Linked DNA regions of Homo sapiens: region 2 is linked to region 1. Evidence: promoter capture Hi-C in 16 types of primary human blood cells and fetal thymus (Javierre and others, 2016). All regions are on one chromosome and are shown on one strand. The core of a region is centred on a gene start or on the middle of the fragment in contact, and the rest is flanking DNA. Distances in the headings are between cores, read along the strand shown.

The links. Contacts are between HindIII fragments. The CHiCAGO score rates a contact against its expected background, and 5 or more counts as called.
Region 2: a fragment that was not itself captured here is called in contact with the fragment with the promoter of FDFT1 in region 1 in 5 of 17 cell types (neutrophils, monocytes, erythroblasts and 2 more); the score reaches 7.2 in neutrophils.

The regions. Positions count from the first base shown.
Region 1 is chr8:11,798,664-11,804,235 of GRCh38, reverse strand. It overlaps FDFT1 (farnesyl-diphosphate farnesyltransferase 1), which reads right to left and starts at 1,495. Exons shown (of 8, transcript NM_004462.5): 1 at 1,305-1,495. The coding sequence starts at 1,403. LOC105379243 (a long non-coding RNA gene) reads left to right here and starts at 2,881. Exons shown (of 3, transcript XR_948962.4): 1 at 2,881-2,923. RefSeq lists silencers at 1,117-1,236, 1,447-1,696, 3,874-3,933 and enhancers at 1,767-1,926, 1,964-2,705, 2,706-3,448, 3,578-4,221. The HindIII fragment of the contact is 12,361 bases long and covers 1-5,572 here.
Region 2 is chr8:11,900,355-11,906,649 of GRCh38, reverse strand. No RefSeq gene overlaps it. Among named protein-coding and RNA genes, the nearest start is that of CTSB, 35 kb to the right of the region's middle. RefSeq lists enhancers at 3,944-4,183, 3,917-4,418. The HindIII fragment of the contact is 9,699 bases long and covers 1-6,295 here.

The DNA.
Region 1 (5,572 bases), core at 246-2,745:
AGATCCCTTGCCCTGCTAGTATCTTCCTCTGCAGTGCTTTTCTCCACGTGAAAAACTGTACATTCGCTTTCTTAAATTGTCTCTCTTCCACTAAAAAGTAAGTTTTATAAAATCAAGGTCTTCACCTAGCTTGTTCACTGTTGTACCTCCAGCACCTAGAACACTATCTGATATACAACTGGTCGTCAAATATTTGTTAAATAAATGAATGCTATATCTAAATATAAAAAGTGACATCTGCCATATCAAATAATAGAAGTTATTCTGTAGCAAAATAATTCAAATAATGTAGCACCGGCAAAGAAAAGATGAAGAAAACTGAATGTTCTACAAATAGACTGAAGGATGTACCTGTATTAAAGATAGCACGTGAAAAATAACACCAAATGAGGGTGTAGTCTACTGGGGACAAAAACCAGAAATTTATTTTCTAGTGTGTTTACTGAAGCACATGGACACTGAAAGAAAGACTCCGATGTTCAGGCACCTATCAAGCCTCGGCCTGAGTCACATTTGCTACTGTCCTGTTGGCCCAAAAAAGTTACAGAAATCAGCCAGGCTGGTCCAGACCAGAAGAACTTGGCTGAATTTGTCTATTCATTCAATAATCGCGTACGAATAATTTTCTTGTTGGAATAAAAACACCTCCTATGCATTCATTAAACAAATAGTACAGGCATGAGGCAGATAAAAATCTAAGTAAAACCAAGTTCTGACCTTCCACCAACCACCTAGCTAATCCATAGACGTTAGATAACTCATTGGAACTTGGAAGCGTAGATAGGCGATTTTAAAACTCAGGAAGCACCGAGGATGAAGCGATGGAAGGCAGCAAGGCGGGGAGAGCTCCGGAAGAGGTGGTGAAACTGGAGGAGTCAGACTTCATTCCAGAAACGGCCTTCATGTGATGTTATCTGCATAGTTCATTCCGCTTACCAAAAAACTCACTCGTCCTCTCCCGCGTAACCCACCCACATTGCCTCAGATGTGTAACCCTCGGGTTAAAATACCGGTAAGCGCCGATGCTCACGGAGGGGACGAAACGGGGAGCGCAACCACCGGGAACCACGCAAAAGTCGCTCATGCCCAGGGCGGCTTGCGGGGGCAGGGACAGGTCAGCCAGGACGGCCGCGTCCACCCGGGCCCTACAGGGGGAAGGCTCGAGGAAAGGGGGACGGGAACACCCAGGCGTCGGCCCTGCTCGCCGCGCCCCTTGCCCCAGATCCGGGCCCGGCCGCTCAGGCCCTGAGGCCGGCCCAGCGAGCTCCTTCCCCGCCCCGGGCAAGCAGGGAGGCTCGGCCCACCTGGTCCATCTTGGGCATCACCTTCCGCTTGCCCCCGATCCGGAAGCGCACCAGGTTGTAGAACTCTTCGGGGTGGCCAAGGCATTTCACGAACTCCATCCTGGCGCAGGCGGCGGACTCCCGGGCGCGACTCTCACCTCTGCGGTCCCCAGGCGCTCACCGGCCGGCTGGACCTGTGGAGTAGGTGCTTCGAGGGGCTGGCCGGACAGGGGGCAGGCCTAGTACGGCGACGCCCCGCCCGCCGCTCCGCCCACTTCAACCGGCCTCGGCCGCCAGCGGGGCTAGCTGCGGCCTCGTGGGGTGGGCTGACGGGCGCTGATTGGCCAGGGCCGCTCACACTAGGAAGACCCCGGCCAATCAGTCGCGGAAGGAGACTGGCGTGATAACACTCTAGAAGCTCATTGGAGGCCGAGAAAGAGGCCGACGAGCGGGATTGGTGCCCTGATGGAGCCGGGCCTTTGTTTTCTTCCGCTTACCCCGGCTGGGAGCGCGAACGCTGTGGGGACTGGAGGTGAGGCGGTGGGGCTTAGGATGCGCAGGAGCCCAACGGTGGTCCGCAGTCGGGAGAGCAGTGCGGGGCTGCTTCCTCCCCACTTGGTCAATAAGTCGCCCACGTGTCCGGCCTCGGTGGCTCCTGCCAGCCGGGTGAGCTCTGCAGCCGCTCTCTGTAGAGCCTAAAACCGTGAAAAGGCCGGGCCAGCGCCAAGCTGGGCGTCTTTACTGTAACACACCCGAGCACAGCCCAGCTCGCCTGCCCGCCACCGCCATCCAGCCCCAGGGAGCCCCACACACTCCTGGAGCTTCAGCTGCCCCCTCTCTAGTGTTTACTTGAGATCCAGCTTAGTCCTAGAAAAAGGAGCTGAAGCCTTAGAGAGCCTGTAACAGGAATGTGGAAACTTCTCTCATCCTAGATCTCTCCAGCCCTAGAAACTACTGGCTACCCGTCCAGGCGTGGTGGCTCACGCCTGTAATCGCAACACTTTGGGAGGCCAAGGCGGGTGGATCACGAGGTCAAGAGATCGAGACCATCCTGGCCAACATGGTGAAACCCGTCTCTACTAAAAATACAAAAAAGCCGAGTGTGGTGGTGGGCGCCTGTAGTCCCAACTACTCCGGAGGCTGAGGCAGGAGAATCACTTGAACCCGGGAAGCGGAGTTTGCAGTGAGCCAAGATGACACCGCTGCACTCCAGCCAGGCCAACAGAGCAAGACTACGTCTCCAAAAAAAAAAAAAAACCTACTGGCTACCTAAGCCATCCTGCAGTCTGTTTTAACACAGCAACCAGTAATCCTTTTAAAACCTGTCAGGTCTAGCCGAGCGCGGTGGCTCATGCCTGTAATCCCAGCACTTTGGGAGGCCAAGGCGGGCGGATCACCTGAGGTCTGGAGTTCAAGACCAGCCTGGCCAACATGCTGAAACTGCGTCTCTACTAAAAATACAAAAATTAGCCAGGCATGGTGGCAGGCGCCTATAATCCCAGCTACCTGGGAGGCTGAGGCAGGAGAATCGCTTGAACACAGGAGGCAGAGGTTGCAGTGAGCTGAGATCGCGCTATTGCACTCCAGCCTGGGGGACAAGAGCGAGACTTCATCTCAAAAACAAACAGGAAACCTGTCAGGTACGTTCACTGCCCAAAGCTGTTCAGTGTCTCTCCAACAAAAGCCAAAGCACCTATAGGGATCCTGAGAGGCTGCAGCCTTCCACCCAGATTACCTCTCTGGCCTCCATCTCTTATGCTTTTGCTTTCTCTGGCCCTAGGACTTTTTGTCTAGCTGTTCACTATTCCTGCACTATCCCCCAGATACTGGCTTGACTAACTCCTGTGCCCCTCGAGTCTGCTCACACCTCATCTAGACCCACCTGTTTGCCCTCTCTCACATTTCCACCACTGCTAATCCCAGTGGGGGTCTACTTGCCTATATTTACCATATTCTAATACATCATTTACTTATGTATTAGATTACAGAGTGTTTCCCCTACTACTGTAAACTAAAAATCCTAAGTCCCTACCACTGGACAGCCCTCCCACTCCCCACCTCGGCCAAGGGAACCCCAGAAAAATCTTAAAAACTTAGTTTCCAGCCATGACGGTATAAAAAGTAAAGTAGAGGTTCCTCTTCAAAGACTTTCCTCCCCATTTAATTAGGAATAAATAGTAACTTCTCTTAGAAGCAAACTTTATTCAAAGACCTGTGCTAACATTCTTAAATATCTGCTAGCTATGATAAAGAAATCAATGTACTTCATGTTCTTAGCTCTCACAATTTAGCCTAAATATTTGCCCTGGCATGCTTATAGTGGTCCAAGAAAGCATTAGGTCATAGCCTGTTCCTCTTCCTTATTTGAAGGTGTTTCAACCTTTGTCACCATTCCACAAGTTACTTCCTCCTTCCTTTGTTCTCCTCTACCTTTGCCTCTTTTAAAAACTTCTAAGTTGCTAGCCAATCGGGACAAATACAGAACGTGAGGCACCGTTCCAGCCAATGGAAACTAGACACAAGCAGTGGGGTGGACGAGTCAGGTTATAAATGACCCTGTCTCCTTTGTTTGGTATACTCCCATGGCAAAACTGCTGGCGAGTGTACCCTTTCTGCAGGAAGTAAAAATGGCCTGCTTAGTAAATTAATGTTCAAGCGCCTTTTTTTTTTTTTTTTTTTTTTTTTTTTTTTTGAGACAGAATTTCACTCTTGTTGCCAGGCTGGAGTGCAGTGGCACAGTCTCGGTTCACTGCCACCTCTGCCTTCTGGGTTCAAGTGCTTCTCCTGCCTCAGCCTCCCGAGTAGCTGGGATTACAGGCGCCCAACCACCACGCCTGGGTAATTTTTCGATTTTTAGTAGAGACAGGGTTTCACCATGTTGGCCAGACTGGTCTTGAACTCCTGACCTCATGATCCACCCTCCTCGGCCTCCCAAAGTGCTAGGATTACAGGCAAGCCACTGCGCCCAGCCTTCGAGTGCTATTTCTTCTTCATTTTTTTTTTTTTTTTAAATGGAGTCTCACTCTGTCGTGAGGCTGGAGTGCAGTGGCGCGATCTTGGTTCACTGCAACCTCTGGCTCCCAGGTTCAAGTGAGTCTCCTGCCTTAGCCTCCCGAGTAGCTGGAACTACAGGCATGTACCACCACGGCCAGCTAATTTTTTTATTTTTAGTTGAGACAGGGTTTCACCATGTTGGTTAGGATGGTCTCAATCTCTTGACCTCGTGATCCGCCCGCCTCAGCCTCCCCAGGTACTGGGATTACAGGCGTGAGCCACGGCTCCCAGCCTACAAGTGCTATTTCTTTCCAGCACCAGGGAAAAAGCATTTCAAATAACGGGACAGGAGATCAGATAGCCCTCATTGTACCCCCTTCCTTTTGGAGTTCATACACAACTGGCTGGCATTAACATTAAAACAGAGATCATAAGACTAACGGAACAGACTCTGTGGCAATAAGATACCCAATTATAAACAGGACCTAAGGCCATGCAGGCAATGGTGAAGTCAGGCACCCCTACACTTGAAGAATCAACTAAGCTCTAACTGCCACAGGGCTCTTCTTTTTCTCCAGCAGCTAAACGCTGGCCTTGAGATAAGCAATAGTAAAACACCTGCAGCTCCACCAGACAGTGACTAATTGAACCCCTGTTCCACCAGCCATAACTACAGCTTTGACTGGTCAAGAGATTGATCTCAGTAACTTTCTCCTGATAAGACCGCCGACCGTGGACTGGTCTGGCCAGTTTACAGAAACTGTACACTCAAGGCGCCTTCCTGTCCTAAAAAGACCTTTTGACCTATAGGGTGTAATTGTAATGCATTCACATGTTGAGTCTCTATCCCAAAGTGAATATGGGTCATATATTACATACATGTTTGTTCAATGTGTCAGGTCCGCCATCATAAATATTCGTAGCTCCTCTTGTAATCTGTTAAATATGTACGTTTAGCCAACCCAGTCAGCATAAAGCTCCTACCTCAAACGCCTTTTCCTTCAAAGTGCCCGTCTGTGGTCTAAGCTGGAAGCATGCTGTAACCCTTTAGAAGAAATAAAGGCTCTTCTCCCTTTCTAAATTGATAAATCATATTTTTTAAGTCAACACTAGAAATCTAAGCTCAGTGACGACACACCTTTGTTTTGCTCACTAATGTCCCCTCAACCATCTGGAATAGTGCCCAGCACATACTGGCTCAATGAATATTTATTGGGTGCTCAATGAGTATTTATTGAATTGAGCTGCGTATAGGACACGATGGTGCCTAAACAATGCAAAGTTAGTTAACGTGC
Region 2 (6,295 bases), core at 957-3,456, 100 kb before region 1:
CTGCCCCCACAGCCAGGAGACTGCCACCAGCCACCCGAGGCCACCCTCTTGGCTCTATCTGCAGCCATGTCTGGCCCGGGCGTCTCTGAGAAGCTCCCAGGCTGGGGCCAATGGGCATGCAGGCAGCGTCATGGGGACACCGTGGGGAGACAGAGGGTGCCAAGGAGTGGGAGATGAAAACAGGAAGGTGGAGGTGATAAGGAGAGAGTTTCAAGGGAACTATAACGTATTTTTAAAAATACCAAGGCTTGGGGAAATCCCGGCCTAAAGAATAGCAGTGCCTGGTCATCAGGATCAAAGCAAAGCTGAAACACCCCTTGGCACAGAGCCGGGAAGAAGAGGCAGCTGTGTGCTGTTGGGAGTGGCTCCTCCAAGAGGTGGGACCATTCGTTCATTCAATCCAACATTGATCGAGGTCTTATTTTTTTTTTATTTTTTTATTTTTGAGACGGAATCTTGCTCTGTCACCCAGGATGGACGGCAGTGGCGTCATCTCCGCTCACTGCAAGCTCCACCTCCTGGGTTCATGCCATTCTCCTCCCTCAGCCTCCTGAGTAGCTAGGACCACAGGTGCCCACCACCATGCCTGGCTAATTTTTTTGTATTTTTACTAGAGACGGGGTTTCATCATGTTAGACACGATGGTCTCGATCTCCTGACCTTGTGATCTGCCTGCCTCGGCCTCCCAAAATGCTGGGATTACAGGAGTGAGCCACCGAGCCTGGCTTCAAGGGCCTATTTTTTTTAGGTTTTGCACAAGCACAAATCTGGCAGGTCCCCCTGGGCCATGGCACCTGGCGAGTACCCAGGTTTATTTTTCCTGGGCATCCCAGGCACACTGCTGCCTCCACACCTTCGTACTCACTTTTCCTCTGCCTGGAGGGCACTTTCAGTTATATCTACACATACCACTCCTTTCCTCCTCTTCTTTAGTAAAATGTCACCTTCCCTGCCCATTCTACTTAAAATTGCAGTGACACCCCACCCCCCCGTCTCCATATCTATCTTCCCAGTCCTGTCCCTAACATTTGGAAAGCCTGGAAATAGATTAAAAATGGGCTGGGAATGGGGGCTCATGCCGGTAATCCCAGCACTTTGGAGGCCGAGGTGGGCAGATCACCTGAGGTCAGGAGTTCAAGACCGGCCTGGACAACATGGTGAAACCCCATCTCTACTAAAAATACAAAAAATTAGAAGGCATGGTGGTATGTGCCTGTAACCCCAGCTACTCCAAAGGCTGAGGCAGGAGAATCGCTTTAACCCGGGAGGTGGAGGTTGCAGTGAGCCGAGATCACCGCACTGCACTCCAGCCTGGGTGACAGAGCAAAACTCTGTGTCAAAAAAAAAAAAAAAAAAAGAGTAAAAATGATGGTTTACCCCCTTTCTCTTCCCACACCCATTTTCATCCTGCACCTCAGTCATACAAGTGAACATCCCAGCTACATCCCCAGGAAACAGTCACCTCTTGACTGTACTTTTGGCTTACAGGTACATTCCACTCTCTCAGGGTCAGACCTATGGGAACACAAACAAGCCCCGAACATGGGTTCAGTGCCATTTGAGCAGGAACTCTTGAGGTCTTGGATAACCAGAGTGAAACCTAGAGAAGGATCTTGGGCTCCCAGGGGCCACATCCCCTTGTCCTGGCAGACTCTTTGCCCTGGAGGGGCTTAGAGAAGGGTGGAGCTTGGGGAAAGGGACCCTCTTACCCAGGTCTAAGGATAGGACTGTCCCTTCCACTTTATTTTTCCCCAAACACTCAACACCGTCGAACATACTATATATTTTAAGTATTTACTTTGTTTATTGTCTGAATGCCTCCAGTAAAATGTAAGTCCCATAGAAGGCAAGGATTTCTGTTTTGTTCACTATTATACTCTCTAAACTTAGTATCTGGCACATAGTAGGTGCTCAATCAATATTTGTTGAATAAATAATGGATTACCAGGTTTGAGGTTCCAGGATAGAAGATAGGCTAGAGGCACCTAGTCTTCATAAAACTCCTTTGTTCTGCAGAGCGCTTCTGGCAAGAAGAATGTTAGGTGCATGGTGCAAAACCCCATCTTTTCAAATCTGCAAACCCTAGAGAGGAATCTATGCATTCTGCTCATTTAGAAGATAGCAGCACCCAGGCACGGTGGCTCATGCTTGTAATCCCAGCACTTCGGGTGGCCGAGGCAGGCAGATTGCTTGAGTTCAGGAGTTCAAGACCAGCCTGGGCAGCACAGCTAAACCCCATCTCTAGAAAAAGTAAAAAATTAGCTACGCCTGAGGGTGCCATGTGTACCAATCAAGTGGAGAGTTCAGATGCATAAACCAATAGCCAAATATAAGACAATAAGTACCGAAATTAAAGTGTGGTCAAGGTATCATCGACAACCAGGTGAGAGGACAGTAAACGCTGCCTGTCTGAGTCACAGAGACCTCCAGGGCGGAGTGACATGGGCTGCACTTTGACGGATGGGTAGGAGCTTCCGCTTTCGAGAAGCTCAGTAACCGGCTGCAGAGGCGTAACTTCTCCACACTAAAAGGTGGTTAGTACACGTAGTCCATGTATGTAAAATACATATATGTATTTGCACAGAAAAATGTTTTTAAGTCTAAGTAATACATTAATTAAAAATTAATAATAGGGGCACAGCGCAGTGGCTCATGACGGGAATCCCAGCACTTTGGGAGGCCAAGGAAGGCAGATTGTTTGAGGCCAGCAGTTCAAGACCAGCCTGGCCAATATGGCCAGACCCTGTCTCTACAAGTATATATACATAAAATAGTTAAATCAGAATAGTGGAATAATTCAGGAAAGTGGGTGATACTTTTTCTTTACACTTTTTGTGTATAGAAGAGCACATATAATTAGAAAACATTAAGATAATAATACCCCACATCTACACATCCAATATGAACATTTGTGTGGATCTCAGGAGGGCTGGGGGAGATGCCTTCCAGGCACCACGGATGGTGTGGAGGTGGGAAACCGTGGAGATATTTCAGAGGGACAGTGAGCCCCTCTGGCTGAGTAAAAAGTAGATGGAGTCGGCCAGGCGCAGTGGCTCACACCTGTAATCCTAGCACTTTGGGAGGCCAAGGCGGGTGGATCGTGAGGTCAGGAGTTCGGGACCAGCCTGGCCAATATGGTGAAACCCCATCACTACTAAAAATACAAAAATTAGCCAGGCACGGTGGTGTGTGCCTGTAGTCCCAGTTACTTGGGAGGCTGAGGCAGAAGAATCTCTTGAACCCAGGAGAGAGGTTGCAGTGAGCCGAGATCGTGCCACTGCACTCCAGCCTGGGTAACAAAGCAAGACTCCATCTCAAAAATAAAAAAGTAGCTGGAGTTGAGGGTAGAAGAGGAGGCCAGTCTTGGTGGCTCACGACTGTAATCCCAGTACTTCAGGAGGCCAAAGCAGGAGGATCACTTGAGGCAGGAATTTGAGACCAGCCTGGACAATATAGTGAGACCTTCGTCTCTGCAAAAATTCAAAACTTGGCTGGGCAGGTGGCACTGGCTTGTCCCAGCTTCGCCAGAGGTTGAGGTGGATCACTTGAGCTCAGGAGTTCGAGGTTGCAGTGAGTTATAATCGCCCCACTGCACTCCAGCCTGGGTGACAGAGTGAGACTTGTCTCTAAAAAAAATAAATAAATAAAACTGGAAGAGGAGACTAAGGCCCAACTGCGGGGCCGTAAATTTCAGGCAAAGGCTTTTGGCCTCTGACCTACCTCCCTGGCATGGCTTGCAGCAAGAAGGTTTAGCTTTCAACCGGGGATGTCTCTCTGCACCCCGTTTCCCAGATGGCAAGAAGCTCAGACGTGGCCGAGCTGAGCCTGGATCCCATCTCTGGTGACTGCAAGGCCTGGGTAGAAGGGCAGGGCAGGGGCAGCGGAGATGGAGGTGCAGGTGCCCCATCTGCCCGCAGATGCCCTCCAGTCACAGACAGGAAGGTCCCGAGACATACCTCACGGGAGAGCTTCCCAGTCCCGCAGACACAGCCCCGGCCACAGACCCTACTCGCGGAGGGAACGCTTGCGTCACAACAGAAGCCACAGAGGCGGGCCTCAGGATGCTCCAACAGGCGTGTGTGTCGCCATCTGTCCTCGTGGGAAGGCTCCTCCCCGCCGGGATGGTGTCCACCGGATCGCGACCAAAGCGGGGCCCTCCCCACTCTCTCCGCCTCCCCGCTTCCTTGGAATGAGGTGGCCGCTGTTTCCCAGCTGCCCGCTTGGTGGCGCTGCCAGCATTAATCGAGGGCGGCGCCGGGCCCCGCAGCCGCTGGAGCTCGGTGGAGAAACGCTCCGTGGTGACTTACAGTGGCCCAGAGGCCTGCATCACTTAAGCCCTGCATTAGACTCAGATCCAGGCCTGGAGAGGCCTGTCAAACCCACATAAGGTAGATAGGACAGAAATGGTGGCTGTCCATCATTCAAGGACATGTGGTCCCTTGAGGTTATGAGATCCACTCAAGTTTCCTTGGCTCAAATATCCAGCAAGCCACGCGGGGCAATCTAAAGAGACTCATCTCGACAAAACATGAAAAAAATTAGCCAGGCATGGTAGCAGGCATATGTAGTCCTAGCTACTCCCGAGGCTCAGGTGGGAGGATGGCTTCAGCATGGGAGAAAGAGGTTGCAAAAAGGCATGACCACAGCACTGCTTTCAAGCCTGGGCGACAAAGAGAGACCCTGTCTCAAACAAACAAACAAAAAGTCTAGTAAACAGAATTGCTTCCCTTTTTGTTGTTTGTTTTCTGAACAGTGCATATTTGTGCAGTAAACAAAAAGGCAGGGCTCAGGGGGATCAACAGGGTATTGGTGGGTCCAAACTGTCACCAACAGGACTCCAGTAGAGAAAAAAAGCAGACAGCCTTGAACTTTGATTTCAGAGCTGGGAAATTGTGGGAGGTCGCTACTATAAAATGCAGGAGACAGCGCTGGGAATGGCTCAACGTGGGTCTCTGGACTGAGGAGAGAGTCAAGGCCATGAACTGAGCCTGACTCTTCCTCCCAGCCTCTCAGGACCTGGCTCAGTTTAACTGTGAAGTGGGAACACTGGCCAGTGCCCTGCTCAGCTGGGAGGGAAGAAGTCTGGTAGGCAGAAAAGACTTTTAAAATTATTACATGCTCAATGAAGATAAAGAATTATTAATATCACCATCTTAATCATCATTATTGGAAAAAGACATCTCATCCAGTGCCCAGGAACAGCAGAGCAAAGACCATGAAGCACACACTCCTGGCTGCTCCTACTTTACATGGACATTAACATAGATGGGATTCAACTTTGGTGTTTTCACTCTGCAGCCAAATTTCCTGGTAATTTATAAGTCATCAGCTTGAGGGATACTCAACCTGGAGCCATTTGGGTACTGGGGCCAAAGGATTTCTGGGGGAACCCAAACTCAGTGACCTCCCCCATCACAAGGGCCCCATTTCAGAGGTTATGATGCCATAACCTTGACCTTGCCTCTCCCTCTTCTCTACCCTCTCCACCTCTGCCATATGACTTTGTTTGCTGCATTTGCCCCAGGTCGTCACAATTGCCCTCCACCTCCACCAACAGATTTCTAGCCACAATGGCGGCAGCAAGCTGCAGAAGTCAGGAGCAAAACTGGACAGGGACCACTGAATAACTGTCTTGTTTATAACACCCTTTATATTTCTCATTTCACTCATGTAGAAGTAGACAAATGGCCCTATTTCAAAAAAGGCTTGAACAAACATCTCACAAAAGATGTATGAATGGTTACTGAGCACACGAAAAGATGCTCAATGTCACTAATCATCAGGGAAATGCAAATTAAAGCTACAATGAGATCCTACCGCACACTCACGAGAGCAGTTACATTAAAAAGACTGACCACACTGATTGTCGCTGAGAATGTGGAACAACTGGAACTCTCATCGCTGCTGGTGGAAGTATAAAGTAGTACAACCACTTCAACACAGTTTGATCATTTCTTTAAAAGTTAAGCATGTAGCTACATATGATCCAGTGGTTTCACTTTTAGATATTTACCCAAGAGAAATGAAAACACAAGAGTTGCAGTAGAATGGCCACTGTGATTTTCCTTATAATGGCCAAGAAATGGAAACTCAAACTTCTGTCAACAGGTAAGGAGATAAACAAATTGAAGTCTATCTATTTGATGGAATACTACTCAACAATGAAAAAGAATGAAGTGTTGATACAGGCCCCTGTATAAAGGAATCTCCAAATAAGAACCCAGACCCCCTGGGAAAAAAAAAAGCATACTATGTGATCTCATTGATATATAATTCTAGAAAATGCAAATGAATC